Linked DNA regions of Homo sapiens: region 1 is linked to region 2. The links are contacts of gene promoters, found by promoter capture Hi-C in blood cells and fetal thymus (Javierre and others, 2016). All regions are on one chromosome and are shown on one strand. Each heading gives the region's core, a stretch centred on a gene start or on the middle of the fragment in contact. The rest is flanking DNA. Distances are from core to core; before and after follow the strand shown.

Region 1 (7,323 bases), core at 2,126-4,625, 320 kb after region 2:
GATTTCAAATCCATCATGAGAAACAGGAAACAGATAAGATGCTTTGGGTTGTTGTGTGGGTGGGGTCTCAGAGTTCCACTCATCTCATTTCCCCACCCTTCCTTCTCTGTGGCAACCCTGAGTTGTGTTCCTATGGCTTTTCTAAGCATAGTTTGCAATACACTGCGTTTCTGGATTTCTAAGGGATCTTTCCAACAAGATCGCTCAAGCAGGGGGCTTCCAAGAATTGGTGTACAGTTCTCAGTTCTCAGTCCCAAGTAGAGCTAGAGGTATACTTAGAAGAAGTCACTCCTAATAATCAGATCCTTGCCTGTGTGTGCTTAGACATGAGCTGCCCTGGTCCTGGCCTGCCAGGCTGTGAGGAAAGATGAGATGTGATGCAGCTCAGCTCTTTGAACTACCCCGAAGGCCAGCCCACTCCTTCCCACATGTGGGGAGTGCTGAGGGCTGAACAGAAAAGAGCAGGGTCTGCAAGGAAGGAGACAGCCTCTAGAAGGCTCTTCATTACGCTGAAGGACAGCCACACGTGGATGGGGCACATTTCCAATGGAAAGGAGTACAAAGCAAGGAAGAACAAATGGTCACATGTACAATTATTTCCTTTTGTGCAAGTGAAAGGTCTAATTTACAAATCCTGCAAACCATACTGACTGTGGAAAGATTTGGCCATATGGAAAAGTTTCCTACTGTTGCCTTGGCTGGAGAACATTTGTAGTTTAGACTGATTGTCAGAGATTAGTCACGGGGATGTACAACATGAAGTCAGCCTTGCTCCCCTACGTGGGGGCAGAGCTAGCTTCAATCACAAGTTGTTTCTGTGAATGTTTACTCCCTCATTTCCTCTCAGAGGAGAATAGTTTCTGAGCCTTTCTAGTAACCAAGTCTTTGTTCAGTAACTAAGAAACATCACTTTGTAGAAGCCTCTAATAATTATCCTCATGACGCTCATCTTAACAGGTGTTACACTGCTTGCCTTAATTAAGCAGAGGCTGCTTTCATTCCAGAAAGCTTTTATGATTTTAATTTACATTCTGATGGATGCTACATGTGCAGGCTCTGAAAGTTTTTTGTTCTTTTTTTTTTTTTTTTCTGAGTTGGAGTCTCACTCTTGTCCAGGCTGGAGTTCAATGGCGCGATCTCAGTTCACTGCAACCTCCACCTCCCAGGTGCAAGTGATTCTCCTGCCTCATCCTCCCAAGTAGCTGGGATTACTGGCATGTGCCACCATGCCCAGCTAATTTTGTATTTTTAGTAGAGACAGTGTTCCCCATGTTGGCCAGGCTGGTCTTGAACTCCTGACCTCAGGTAATCCATCCACCTCGGCCTCCCAAAGTGCTGGGATTATAGGTGTGAGCCACTGCGCCCAGCCTGTTTTCATTTATGGAGTAAGACACTCACTGATGAATGGTCCTATGCTTGTATGTCTTTGTATATGCTTGGTCTGAAAATTGACAAAGGGCTCAACAGCCCCATTCAAGAGTAGAGAAGAAAAATTCAGGGTTTTTCTACAGTGGTAATACCCAGAGGCAATTGGTCCAGTTATTATTAATGTGTAGTGAATGTCCCCATTATTTAGCAGCTTAAGACAATTATTGTATTTTGAGAGTCAGGTTTAGAAACAGTTTGACAGTTCTCACTGTCTCTCATGTGGTTGCAGTCAGATATTGGCTGGGGTTGCAGTCACCTGAAGGTTTGACTGAGCTGGATGTCCAAGGTGGCTCATGCACATGGCTGATAGTTGACACTGGCTGGGTTTTTTTTTTTTTTTTTTTTGCTTTTTAACTTTAATTTTTTGTAGAGATGGGGTTCTGCCATGTTGACCAGGTCAGTCTTAAACTCCTGATCTCAAGTGATACCCATCATGACAGCCTCTCAGAGTGTTGGTATCACAGCATGAGCCATTGTGCCCAACACTGGCTGTTGACTGGTTCAGCTGGGACTGTTGACCAGAGGCCCACAAACACATGGCACCTCCAGCACAGCAATCCCATGGTCCTAGGATAGTCCAAGTTCTTAGATGGTGGCAGAGGCAGGCTCTCCTAGATTGAGCACCCTAAGAGAATCAGGTAGAAGCAGCATGGCCTTTGCTGACAGCCTCAGAAGTTATGCCACATCACTTCCATTGCTTTCCATTGGCTACAGCTGAGTCACAAGATAGGCCAGAAGTCAAGGGGAAAACATATAGTTGACCTGTCTCGATGAGAAGCTTATCAAAGAATTTCACTTACTATGTGCATTCTCCCAGATGACTGAGCCCAGAGATAAGACTTTTCCCCTTTGCCGCTTTTCTAGCTAAATAGTAGATTTTCCCTGTCTTTTCCCTTATTTGTCCAGTACTGAAGAAAGGAACTTTATCCAGTATACATTTTTTACCTTTAAATTCTCAGTTAAAGAGAAGGAAAGATGCATCTCTGTTGTTTATTCATTGATTTGACAAATGTGTGTTATTTATAAATGGGTGTCTCCCTCCAACAAACTCATGACACAGCACAGAAAGACAGAAAGCCATGTGTTTTTAGTAATTCTATCTCCATGTGTGCAACTTGCAATAATAGCTACTATATGAGTGCTAAGAACAATGTTATAGGAATTGGAAGGCAGTGGTTATTTCTGAGATTGGAGGGAGGAGAAAGGAAAGGCAGCTTTTAAGGAGCCTCATTGGAGTCAGTCATTGCAGTGTTTGGGGGCTGGATCTCACAGACACCTGGCTTAGAATCAGGTATTTGAAGTGGAGGAAGAAAAATGTAGAAAGAGATTTATTCTGGAATTTTTAACTTTCTGCCTTATGCCTAGAGCTCTGCCTGGGAGAAAGTGGATATTAATAAATGCTATTTGACAAGCAAGACTCAAAGTCTAATGAAACTATAAACTATTTCAAAATTACAAACATCTGGCTTCCCCATGTGTTCCTTGTCAGTAAACTGCAAATAACTTAATGTGACCAGCAAAATATTCAAAGCCAAGGCTGTCTGAGCTGCTCAGTGGCCATGTCTTTTTCATGTATTCATCTATGCAGTAAGTAGTTATTGAGCACTGGCCATGTGTCAGGAATGTACTAATAGGGATAAATTGGTGAGCATGATATATTGCATCAACCTTGGTTTTGGAACATGGTTCTGTTTTGTTCAACTATGCTGAACTTGTATAAAGGGAATTGATTAACATTCAACTCAAAACTAAATGGGAGTACTCCTTTCTGGGAGGGAAGTTGATATGGCTTAGATATCATCAAACCTACACATGGTGAGAATTATACCATCAGAACCACATAGTGAAGCCCCAGATGCTGGTGTTAGTGCTGGTGTTTGTGCAGCATGTTGCCAGATTAGAATTTTGACTTTGAATAAGAGTGCAGAGATCAGAAGGATCAATGGTGAACCCTTCCTCATATTTTCTCCCAGTGTCATAGAGGAAAATCAATTGGCTATTAATGGAAAACTGAAGACAAGCTACTGCCTTAAACCAAACTTTAACTGGCACTGTCCCTAATGAACAGAACTTCATATTATGTTTTTTAAAAGTTAAAAATCTCAATGAACAAAGACATCTTCTTTTTTTTTTTTTTTTTTTTTGGAGATGGAGTCTCACTCTGTTGCCCAGGCTGGAGTGCAGTGGAATGGTTTCGGCTCACTGCAACCTCTGCCTCCCGGGTTCAAGTGATTCTCCTGCCTCAGCCTCCTGAGTAGCTGGGATTACAAGCATGTGCCACCATGCCCAGCTAATTTTTGTATTTTTAGTAGAGACGGGGTTTTGCCATGTTGGCCAGGCTGGTCTCGAACCCCTGACCTCAGGTGATACACCTTGGCCTCCCAAAGTGCTAGGATTACAGGAATGAGCCACCATGCCTAGCCAGACAAAGACATTTTCAATGCTGTATTCCCTTTAGTTCTTCTCATCAAAATGATATGATCCTCCCCGTGTAAGCTGTATATCCTGATCTATTTTCAGATTTATATTTTATATTGTTTGCTGTGATTCATCTTGTTTTCAAAATACATATTCAAATCTCTTTTTAAAAGTATGTTTACTTATGAGGAAAAGAGCCTCCCTTCCCTGTAGATCCTAAAAGAATTTCTGGAAAGGTGATGTAGGCAGAGGGAAACTGGAGTTTACACATGTATATAATAGAGAAAATGTGAAACTGGGTGTGATAGTTCCTGACTTCAGCTGGTGGTCAACTCCTTCATTTCTCTCTAAATGTAGCTCTTATGTATTTTATAACAGTAAAAGCCATATTTCAAAATTTCTGAGTCTGTAGCTTTTGGTTATTTTGTCACAAGTTGGACTTTGGGACTCTGCTCTTGTGCCTATAGACACTGTAGGGTTAGAGGTATTGGTAGGAAAATTGGGGATATTGGCACATGCTCGTTATTGCTTGAAGCCTTTGAGAAAGGGATAGTCTAAGAGGCAAGTTTAGGTGAAAAGTGACATGCCTGAATGCAGAAAGGGAAGACAGTTGAGTTTTGCTAATACAGACTCCTCCTGCCCATAACCTAGAATCTAAATCGATTTGAAGGCCATAGTTTGGAGATTTTCAAGCTTGCAAATCCCAATTTTGTACAAAATTGATATCCTTCTCCTACTCACCTCCCAAAAGGTAGAGAAAAAAGAAATTTCTCCGGAGATATGACTGATAAAATTGGGACAAAAGCAAATCTGATTCCCCATGCCTCTCCTTAATATCCCTCACCACACATCCTTTGTAAGACAGGAGGCACTATCTAGCTTAGGTGCACCCAGGAGGGCTGGGGTCACAGGTGACATCACCCCTCCCCTGCTTCACACCCTCTTCCACCACATGGCTTTTGTTACCAGTTGCCTCAAGGTGGAAGCCATTAAACTTCGTGCTTGAAGGTGGGAAAATCATAGAGACATGTGGGGAGGAGGAGGGATTGTGGCTCTCACAGGCCTCGTTCAGACAAGATGACTGGCCATTATCGGTGCCTGGACCTGACCAGAAGTGAATTTCAAACTGATAAAAGTCTGGAACAATTCAAGCCCTATTGTCCTGAGGCCATAGAATCTGTATCTACTGGAAGTGAGCTGTTAAATCTGGCAGCATCCAGGAGGGCATCTTCTTCAACGCTTACCCCAGAAATGGCCATGGAAGACAATGGGCAAGGGAGGCTCCAGTGGAGTGGAACTAGGGACGTCCATGGGGCTGACAGAGAAACTCACTCGATTCCTGGGTCATGGAACTAGTATTTGCTATTGATGTCCTTCAGGAAATAACATGTGCTATGGATCAGTGATGACAGTCACTTTTCTGAATGAAAGGTTTTATTGGGTTTATCTTGTTTTTTTCTTGATGAGACTTTAGGTTCTTTTCACCCTTGGAAGGACTATGTGCATTTTGTGGAAGTATGAGCACTTTTTGAACAATGTATGGAAGCTAGGAAGTCAAAGAGGTAGACTGTGGAAGATAATGGTTGGGTAGTTTTTAGCCCAATAATCTTTCTCCCTGTCTCCCTTGCCAGAAGAGCCATTGTTTTGTTTGAAAGTCACTCAGGCAAGGGGACTGTATTCCTCATTTTAGGGATAAACACTGTTGTTATATGCCAAGTATGGTAATCTCATTCCCTTTGCCAGTGGTTGATTTTTCCAACGGACCTGGATATAATTCTGGCTGATAAGAAGTGGTAGGTTTCTAAGAATTGGGGTTCGTGATTTGCATTCTAATTCTTACAGAGGGTAAAGAAGAAAAACTACAGGTGTTGATGGAATTTATATTCAGAATCTGTATCTCAAGGCAAGTGAAGAAAGGTCTACTAGAACAGCCCTGGGAATAAATTACTGTTTGCTTGCTTGGTAAAAATTAGAATAGTATTGTTTTCCAAAAATTATGTACAAATTGCAGTAAGGCATTATTTGTCTTTAGAGTCATTGAATGCTATTTGCTGAAATAAACAATATGCAGTCTGATTAAGTTTTTTGAAAGGGTCACTTTTAAGGACAGCTGCAGCATGCTTTTCTTTCAGAAGCTCTGTTCTGCGCAAGGGCAGGAGGTGGGTCATTTGTTTTTCCTACTTCATAAGGAGGAAGCAGCCCGTGCCCTCACTTGAGCTGAGCAGCATAAGAAGAATCTCAATGAAGCCTCCAACTTAATAAGATCAGTTTCTCTCTTCTGCAAAGTTCCAGGCAGCTTGTATGATTTAGATATTTTACCATCAGGATCAATAGATCATCAGGAGAACAAATAGCTACTTCTACTATGTTTCTATTATTGATTTCTAGCCTACTTTAAGAAAAATAACATTTAAATACAAAGCTGGGGATACTACTCAGCAATAAGGATGGACTACAGCCCCATGCAACAACATGGATGCATCTTACCAATGAGAAAGAAGCCAGACATGAAAGAGAACATCCTGTATGATTCCTTAAAGTTCAGAAACAGGCAAAATGTTCTATGATGTCAGAAGTCAGGAGCATGGCTACCCTGAGGTGAGGGGATACTGACTGGGAGGGTTGCTAGATATCTTCTGATTCTTTTATGTTTTTTTGTTTTGTTTTGAGACAGGGTCTTGCTCTGTTACTCAGGCTGGAGTGGAGTGGCATGACCATGGCTCACTGCAGCCTCAACCTCCTGAGCTCCAGTGATCCTCCTGCCTAAGCCTCCTGAGTAGCTGGGACTAATGGCAGGCATCACCATGCCCAGCTATTTTTCATTTTTATTTTTAGTAGAGACGAGGTCCTGCTATGTTGTCCAGGCTGATCTTGAACTCCTGGGTGGGCTCAAGTGATCCTCCCACCTTGGCTTCCCAAAATGCTGTGCTTACAGGTATAAGCCATCATGCCCAGCCTGTTCTGATTCTTAATCTGGGTGTTGGTTTTACAGGTATGTGTATTTTGTGAGAAGTTATGATTGTGCAGTTTTTTAAATATGTATCTTATCATTCAATTAAAAGTTTGCCAAAAAACTACAAAACTGACCCTTAAAGGGTATCTGGTAAAATTCATGTGTTTAAGAAAGACATGAGGTGACAGAAACCAGAATGTCAGAGCTATTGGTGGACTTCCCCCTTTGTATTCATTTTAGTCACCCTAAAGCTGTTCAAACACTTGTTTTGGTTAGGGCCATGGTTACAAGTGACAGAATCAAATCCCAATTAGCTTCATCTCAAAGGGGAATTGATTTGAGCCACAAAAATCTAAAAGAAAATGTTGAAAAACCAAGTATGGGAAAGAGTGGGGATGCAGATGGGCTTCACGAATAACTAGAGCCAAGTTACTGAGGTGCATGAGGAGGCTCCCCTCATTCCTCCTGTGCTGTGTGTGTGTTGCCAGCTTCCTTCTCTTTCCTTGCAGACTGGATCACTCCAT
Region 2 (6,489 bases), core at 2,694-5,193:
TTTGCTGAGCCACAAAGTTGTATTCTAGTCATCTAAATGCCCTAAAGATGATAGCACATCATATTTAAGTTCTTCCCATTTTCCTGGCCTTCCCAATTCCCGCTACCTCCTTGAAGCTTCCACAGATATTCCACAGCGAGCCTTCTCCTTTCGGGATCTCTTTGGCCTTCGGAGCTGCTTTTTGGTCTTGGTAGCTACCAGTGTGGTGCTTGTCTTTTTCAGAGCAACTCACATACTAGGAGCGTGGATTCTAGAGGGGCTTGAAACCTGATCCTGTCACCTACTAGCTGTGTGATCTTGGACAATTGGCACCTTCGATGTCTTCACGTTCCTCATCTGTGAAATGGGTTTCTACCTCACCGGATTCTTATAAAGATTACATGAGTTAATATTTCTAAGTGCTTAAAACAGTGCCGAGCCCAAAGTAAGCAGTATATGTTTTTCAGGTTGTATCCTTTTACTTAATATTGGAGTTCCTGTTGAATGTAGCTAAAGAAGGAAGAAGAAAATAGTGTACAAGAGCGCTTACTATTAACTGAGACAAATGAATTGGCACCTTTTTTGTTCTCCAAAATGCAAAACCTGCTCCTTTTAATAATAATTAAAAAAAAAAAAAACCAGTTCGCAACTTCCCTGACTCTTTCACTGAAACTCCGTAAGTGATCTTCAAGATCACTTACGAGGTTTCTCTCAGTTACCACTAACTGTGGTTAAAGTACTGACATTTTTATATTAATAACTATGAGGCTGAATTCTCAAGTACTTTCTTGATTAGGCACTGAAAAAAGACAAGCTTGCAGAAAATGAGTTGGCAACTTGGCAACCCCCCAGGGTGTTTTTCCAAAGGCAGCTCTCAGGCAACGTGTTGAGTGAATGCTGTAAGAGACCCACTTGTGTAAGCCCCACAATTATCAGCTCCTTGCTTAGTAGCTTCTTAAAATGTCTGCTGGGTATTCTATGAATTTGTTTTTCTGTAATAATGATTGTAACCTCCTCAAGGTCAAAGGATTATGACTGCTCAGACTTTGTAACCCCTGGCATGGAGCTGGAACTACTGCATAGCTCAATAATTTCCTGCTGATAGATTGATTGTTAAGATGGGTAGGACCAAGCAATGTTTAGATGCTGCCAAACCACAGTGGGAGAAATCCTACGAATAATAGTACAACTCCCCACGATTCCTTTCTACTCTGTCTTCATTGGTGCAACCTACAACTAAGAACACTGATTCCATCCTAGTTTCTCTCATCCAATAATGAAGGGGAGCAAAAGCTGGGAAGGAGACAGAAGTGAAAAGCCTGGATCATCCAATTTAGAGGTTTATTGAGTGAGTGTTGAGTCCTTTTAGGAGAAAGCATGGTCTCCCTGAATCTTCCATTTGAAGGAGCTGAAAGGGAGAGTGACTTCTATGGCATTAGTCAACACCAGGGGGCAGGAGAGAAAGCTGTATGAATGGAACAGGCTGAAAGGGTGGTGTGAGTAAATGGCACAAGCATGTGAAAATTTCCACCACGGTTCTTGGCACCTAGCAGTACGCTATATGTGTTAGTTGAATCCCAGAGTTTTAACGCCCTTGAAAAATTATTTCTTAATTAGGTCGTGTATGTTCATTGTAGAAAAATTAAGAAAAACAACAGAGCAGCAAAACAACGAAGACATTTTTAATCACTCATAATCTCACCATTCCAAAATGAACTGTTCACATTTCTGTAGAGCACATTCTGTTTTCTATGCATGGATACCTTTCCCTCAAAATGCGATCACCATAAATTGTTATTCATGTTTCTCCATAGTTTTAACTGGTAATATTTACTATTTAGCTCAACATATAATCATGGGTAGAGGAAAAGAATACCCAGGGTTCTAGTTTTGGCTCAGACCTAGCCAGCCCCTGGCAAGCAGCTTGACCTGTCTAAGCTTTCAGTTCCTCATCTGTGAAATAAAGAGTTTGATGCCTATCACCTCCTACCTCCATAATTCTAACCATTGATGGGTCATTAAAATAAGACAATATGGTGCAGCGGTTATTGCTCTGGTATCAGCCAGGCTCTAATCCCTGCTCTACCTGTGAGAACCTGGGCAGGTTTTTTTTTTGTTTTTTGTTTTCGAGATAGAGTCTCGCTCTGTTGCCCAGGCTGGAGTGCAGTGGTGCAATCTCAGCTCACTGCAACCTCCGCCTCCCGGGTTCAAGCGATTCTCCTGCCTCAGCCTCCAGAGTAGCTGAGAGTACAGGTGTGCACCACCATGCCCGGCTAATTTTTGTATTTTTAGTAGAGATAGGGTTTCACCATGTTGGCCAGGCTGGTCTTGAACTCCTGGCCTCAAGTGATCCACTGGGCAGATTTCCTGACCATTCAGTGTCTCCGTTTTCTTTTCTCTAAAATGGGATTAATAATTGGACATATCACATAGGGTTGTTGTGAGGATTGAATTGATAGCACATAGTGTTTGGCACAGAGTAAAGGCTCAACAAGCAGCAGCTATTCTCAATATTTTAGCTCAGGCACCAGGCGCCTTGAGGTGATAGAGTAAAAACTCTAGCTGAGAGATCAAGTAGAAACTTGGGAACTAGCCCGGGTGGAACACAGGCACTGGGCATCGTGCTGAGTCTGTTCATTGGCACCATCTTACTTCATCTTCAGAACGTTACTATCTCTGTTTTACACATGAGGAAACTGAGGTTAGAACTTGCCTAGATTCGTGTAGCTAGTAAGTGTCAATCCAAAGACCTTCCAGCTAGTTTTGGTTGAGCTAAAGGGGCTAGAAGACCTGCCATTAGTTAGATATTTCATTTCAAAAATAAAACCCAGGCATGAAGTCCCTTTCCCAGTGATATTCAGTGTGATTTTTTTCTTCACTCTAATAATTTTAACAATTCCACTGTTTGACAGTTGTTTAAAAGACATAGGAATTTTTGTATATTTTAATTGACTAATGGATAGCTCAATTAGGGGAGCAAAACTAGGATGTGGGTTTTATAAAAATAATTTAGACTTGACTTAGACATTTAATTTTACAGTTGTAAATGATGGTCTAAAAATTCTTCAAACTAATCAAAATAATGAAACTTCAGCGAAAGTGAGTGGCTCAGAAGGCCCATGAAACATACGGCGTGATTTTTTAAATTTTATTTTAACATTTTGATTTCCACACCACTGCCAAAGGACGTCAGAATTGAGTAAGGGGTTTGGGTTGACTGCTGCCTCTTGACCGGCTGTATGTGTGAAAAGGGTCATTTCACTTCCGGCTTTAGTGTTCCCCGCAGGGGAGAAAATTGAAGAATAGACAGAAATACGAAGTGTCTTTTAATTAAATGCCACCTTGGTGTTTTATGGGGCTCGTATGCTTTCCTAACAACATTTGTTAGATAAGTTGGTAATTCCCGGCAGCTGTCTACTGTGTGGTGCATCTGTGAACTCATACTAATCGAAAAGCATGCAGCCAGTTTGGGATCGCGCAGGCTAAGGTGAGGGAGAAATGCGGATACACCGGGTAATGAACGATATAAACATTTCAAATGCGATACACATTCGGTTTGAGCCACATCTTCTGTGTGCAGATTCACCCGCAGTGACCCACAAAGCTATTCCCAAGTAACAGCCGCCCCAAGCCTGAGGCACTGGCGCCCCGCCTGGGCGAGGCTGGCTGCGCTCTCTCTTGGCCGGCGCCCGCTGCATGCGGTACGTGCCTGCCCGGCCCCTAGCCCAGGGTTCCCGTTACGCGGCTGGTTCCAGCTGGCCGCGGAGTCCCAGAACCTCCCCGCGATGCCCAGATAGCTCTCTGCACGTCTCGCCCCGGGGCGATCACGTTGCCGGGGCGAGGGCTGGCGCCCCAGCTGGGCGCTGGTTGGTCGCGCCCTGGGGCTCGAGGCCCGGCGATTGGTCCCAGGGATCGGGTCACGTGCTTGGGAGCAGATAAGCGGCCTCTAGGCGCCGGGCCCTCAGTCTCTCCCAGCGACCGCCGCGGGGGCAAGGCCTGGAGCTGTGGTTCGAATTTGTGCAGGCAGCGGGTGCTGGCTTTTAGGGTCCGCCGCCTCTCTGCCTAATGAGCTGCACCAGGTAGGTTCGCTGCAACTCTGCGCGCTAGGAACACAGGGGAACGCGCAGCTGTGGGGAAGTTGGGGGGCGTTTCAGTTCTATCATCTCTGGAAATGGACACCCCAGGGGGAGGACAAGTGGACTGACTGCGTAGTTGAATCTGGCAACCGAGAGGCCTTGGAGGTGTAGAAATTTGGCTCTATTTCTTAAGCAGAGCCTATTTTAGTAATCAGCATCTTAAAGCAGAAATTATCTTAACGTGAATCAGCTTGAGTTAGGATTTTCTCATGGATGCGGCTGTTCTTTTGGTCCTGCACAAATGTCCCAAAGACTCGGGCAGCTGAAGTGGTGAGAACAGCACTCTGACATTGCTGGTTAGGTGGTTTAGCTTGGAGGAAAAAAATTACAGGACGACGTTTGCATTCATTCGTCCTTCTTATCACAGTTTGCCATAGCAAAATCTCAAGAGTTTGAGCAAACGATTACTTTTAACTCTTGTCCAGGACTTAAAGTTCCAAGGAAATCACCCAAACTAAAACTGTCTTTCTATAAATGCAAAAAGTAAAAAAAAAAAAACAAAAAAACCAAAAAAAACCTCCCATAAAACTACTTTAAATAGCTTCTCCAGACATAGCTTAGCAGAAGACTTCTCTAAAAATCCTGCCTATTAACTATTATTAGACCCACAAATATAGCTTTAGCTTTCATTTGTTTGTTCTAAGTTTGCAGATCTCCCAGAAAAACCCCAGAGCTAACACAGTAAATTCTGCGAGTGTTATTACACACTTTTGTGATAATGACCACTTGCATACATGTTTAGAGCTGCTGTGAGGAGAGTTACTAAAGCCAGACTGAGAAATGTCGTGTACAGTATACACACACCTCTTACTTGTAAGGCTAAGATAGGGAAAAAAATCTTAATACCATAAGCTTGGAAATATATGATGAGGGCTAAAGGTCAGAGAAAAGTCTTCTTTATAGATGCTTCTTGGTTTAATATTGCTGAGCATAGTCATGTTTAAAACTTTAAATGGTTTTATTGTCTTTCTACTTATAAATGTCTATTAGAAAATGCCAAAAAAGAACAAAAACGAAAATAGATAATCTATAATCCTATCACCCAGAAATAATAATTATTAAATTATTAGGAAAGGTGTATTTCCTATAGAGTTTTTCAATATTTATAAGTTTGTATATATAAAATGTATATTTTAAAACACTCCAACTTTCAGGTAATCAGTTTTTCCACTTAAATGTGGACTTGTCATGGGCATCTCTTTAGGTGAATTATCAATTATATAGTTTTTAAGTGCATATGAATTGTTGGCTTGTATTTCAGTGGTTATTTGTGAAAAATAAGAGCATGATAATCAAAGTGCAAAGATGATTCTTTGACTTCTTCTCTAGCCTTCTCACTCTCAAAACTGTTGCATGTTATTTTTTTTTTTTCAAGTGAATTACCTTACCAGAGAAGTGTCAATCAATTTAGCAGCAAAATAAGCCAACGTAGCCAGAGGGAGCAGAGGGTCTGGAACTGTGGCTCCTGAACCTGTCTGGTCATTAGAATCACCTGGGAAGCTTTAAGAACATACCCATCCCTTGGCCCTAGCCCCAGAAGTTCTGCCTCAGTAGTTCTGAGTCCCAGGAATTGGAAAGAAAGAAGAAAGAGAAAGAGAGAGAGAGAGGAAGAAAGGAAGGAAGGAGGGAAGGAGGAAAGGAGGAAAGACAAGAAAGAAAGAAAATGAATTCCCTAGACATAGTGACCAGACAGGTTTGAGGACCACTGGTCCAGAACAGAGCACACAGTTCTCAAGGCTGCCTTGGAGATAATCAAATCGAACCCTTTTATTTCTCAGATGGGGAAACTGAGACCCCCATCACCCTCTAAGTGTTTTAAGCAATTAATAGCCTTTAGCCGGCCAAGGGTAGAGGTAGACATAGAAGATCTGATCACTTAATACTGTTCTCTTTTACTACATATGATAGCACCTGCCTGATATCTAGTGCACTGGCTATAATTCAGTCAGCACAAAAATAGTACATATGTATTTGGCACTGGGGAAGAGCATTTCCGATCCAGGTGATAATCCCTCTTCTTTTTGCATTCCAGAATGATCCAGGTTTTAGATCCACGTCCTTTGACAAGTTCGGTCATGCCCGTGGATGTGGCCATGAGGCTTTGCTTGGCACATTCACCACCTGTGAAGAGTTTCCTGGGCCCGTACGATGAATTTCAACGACGACATTTTGTGAATAAATTAAAGCCCCTGAAATCATGTCTCAATATAAAACACAAAGCCAAATCACAGAATGACTGGAAGTGCTCACACAACCAAGCCAAGAAGCGCGTTGTGTTTGCTGACTCCAAGGGCCTCTCTCTCACTGCGATCCATGTCTTCTCCGACCTCCCAGAAGAACCAGCGTGGGATCTGCAGTTTGATCTCTTGGACCT

Evidence for each region. The method cuts DNA at HindIII sites, captures the fragments that hold promoters and counts their contacts. A CHiCAGO score of 5 or more calls a contact.
Region 1: a fragment that was not itself captured here is called in contact with the fragment with the promoter of PPP1R3C in region 2 in 10 of 17 cell types (naive CD8 T cells, total CD8 T cells, non-activated CD4 T cells and 7 more); the score reaches 8.9 in naive CD8 T cells.

The regions. Positions count from the first base shown.
Region 1 is chr10:91,307,421-91,314,743 of GRCh38, reverse strand. It overlaps HECTD2-AS1 (HECTD2 antisense RNA 1), which reads left to right. Exons shown (of 5, transcript NR_024467.1): 5 at 7,309-7,323. Among named protein-coding and RNA genes, the nearest start is that of PCGF5, 90 kb to the right of the region's middle. The HindIII fragment of the contact is 2,333 bases long and covers 2,209-4,541 here.
Region 2 is chr10:91,630,525-91,637,013 of GRCh38, reverse strand. It overlaps PPP1R3C (protein phosphatase 1 regulatory subunit 3C), which reads left to right and starts at 3,943. Exons shown (of 2, transcript NM_005398.7): 1 at 3,943-4,058; 2 at 6,148-6,489. The coding sequence starts at 4,045. RefSeq lists enhancers at 3,311-3,810, 3,811-4,312 and a silencer at 3,837-3,976. The HindIII fragment of the contact is 3,050 bases long and covers 1,920-4,969 here.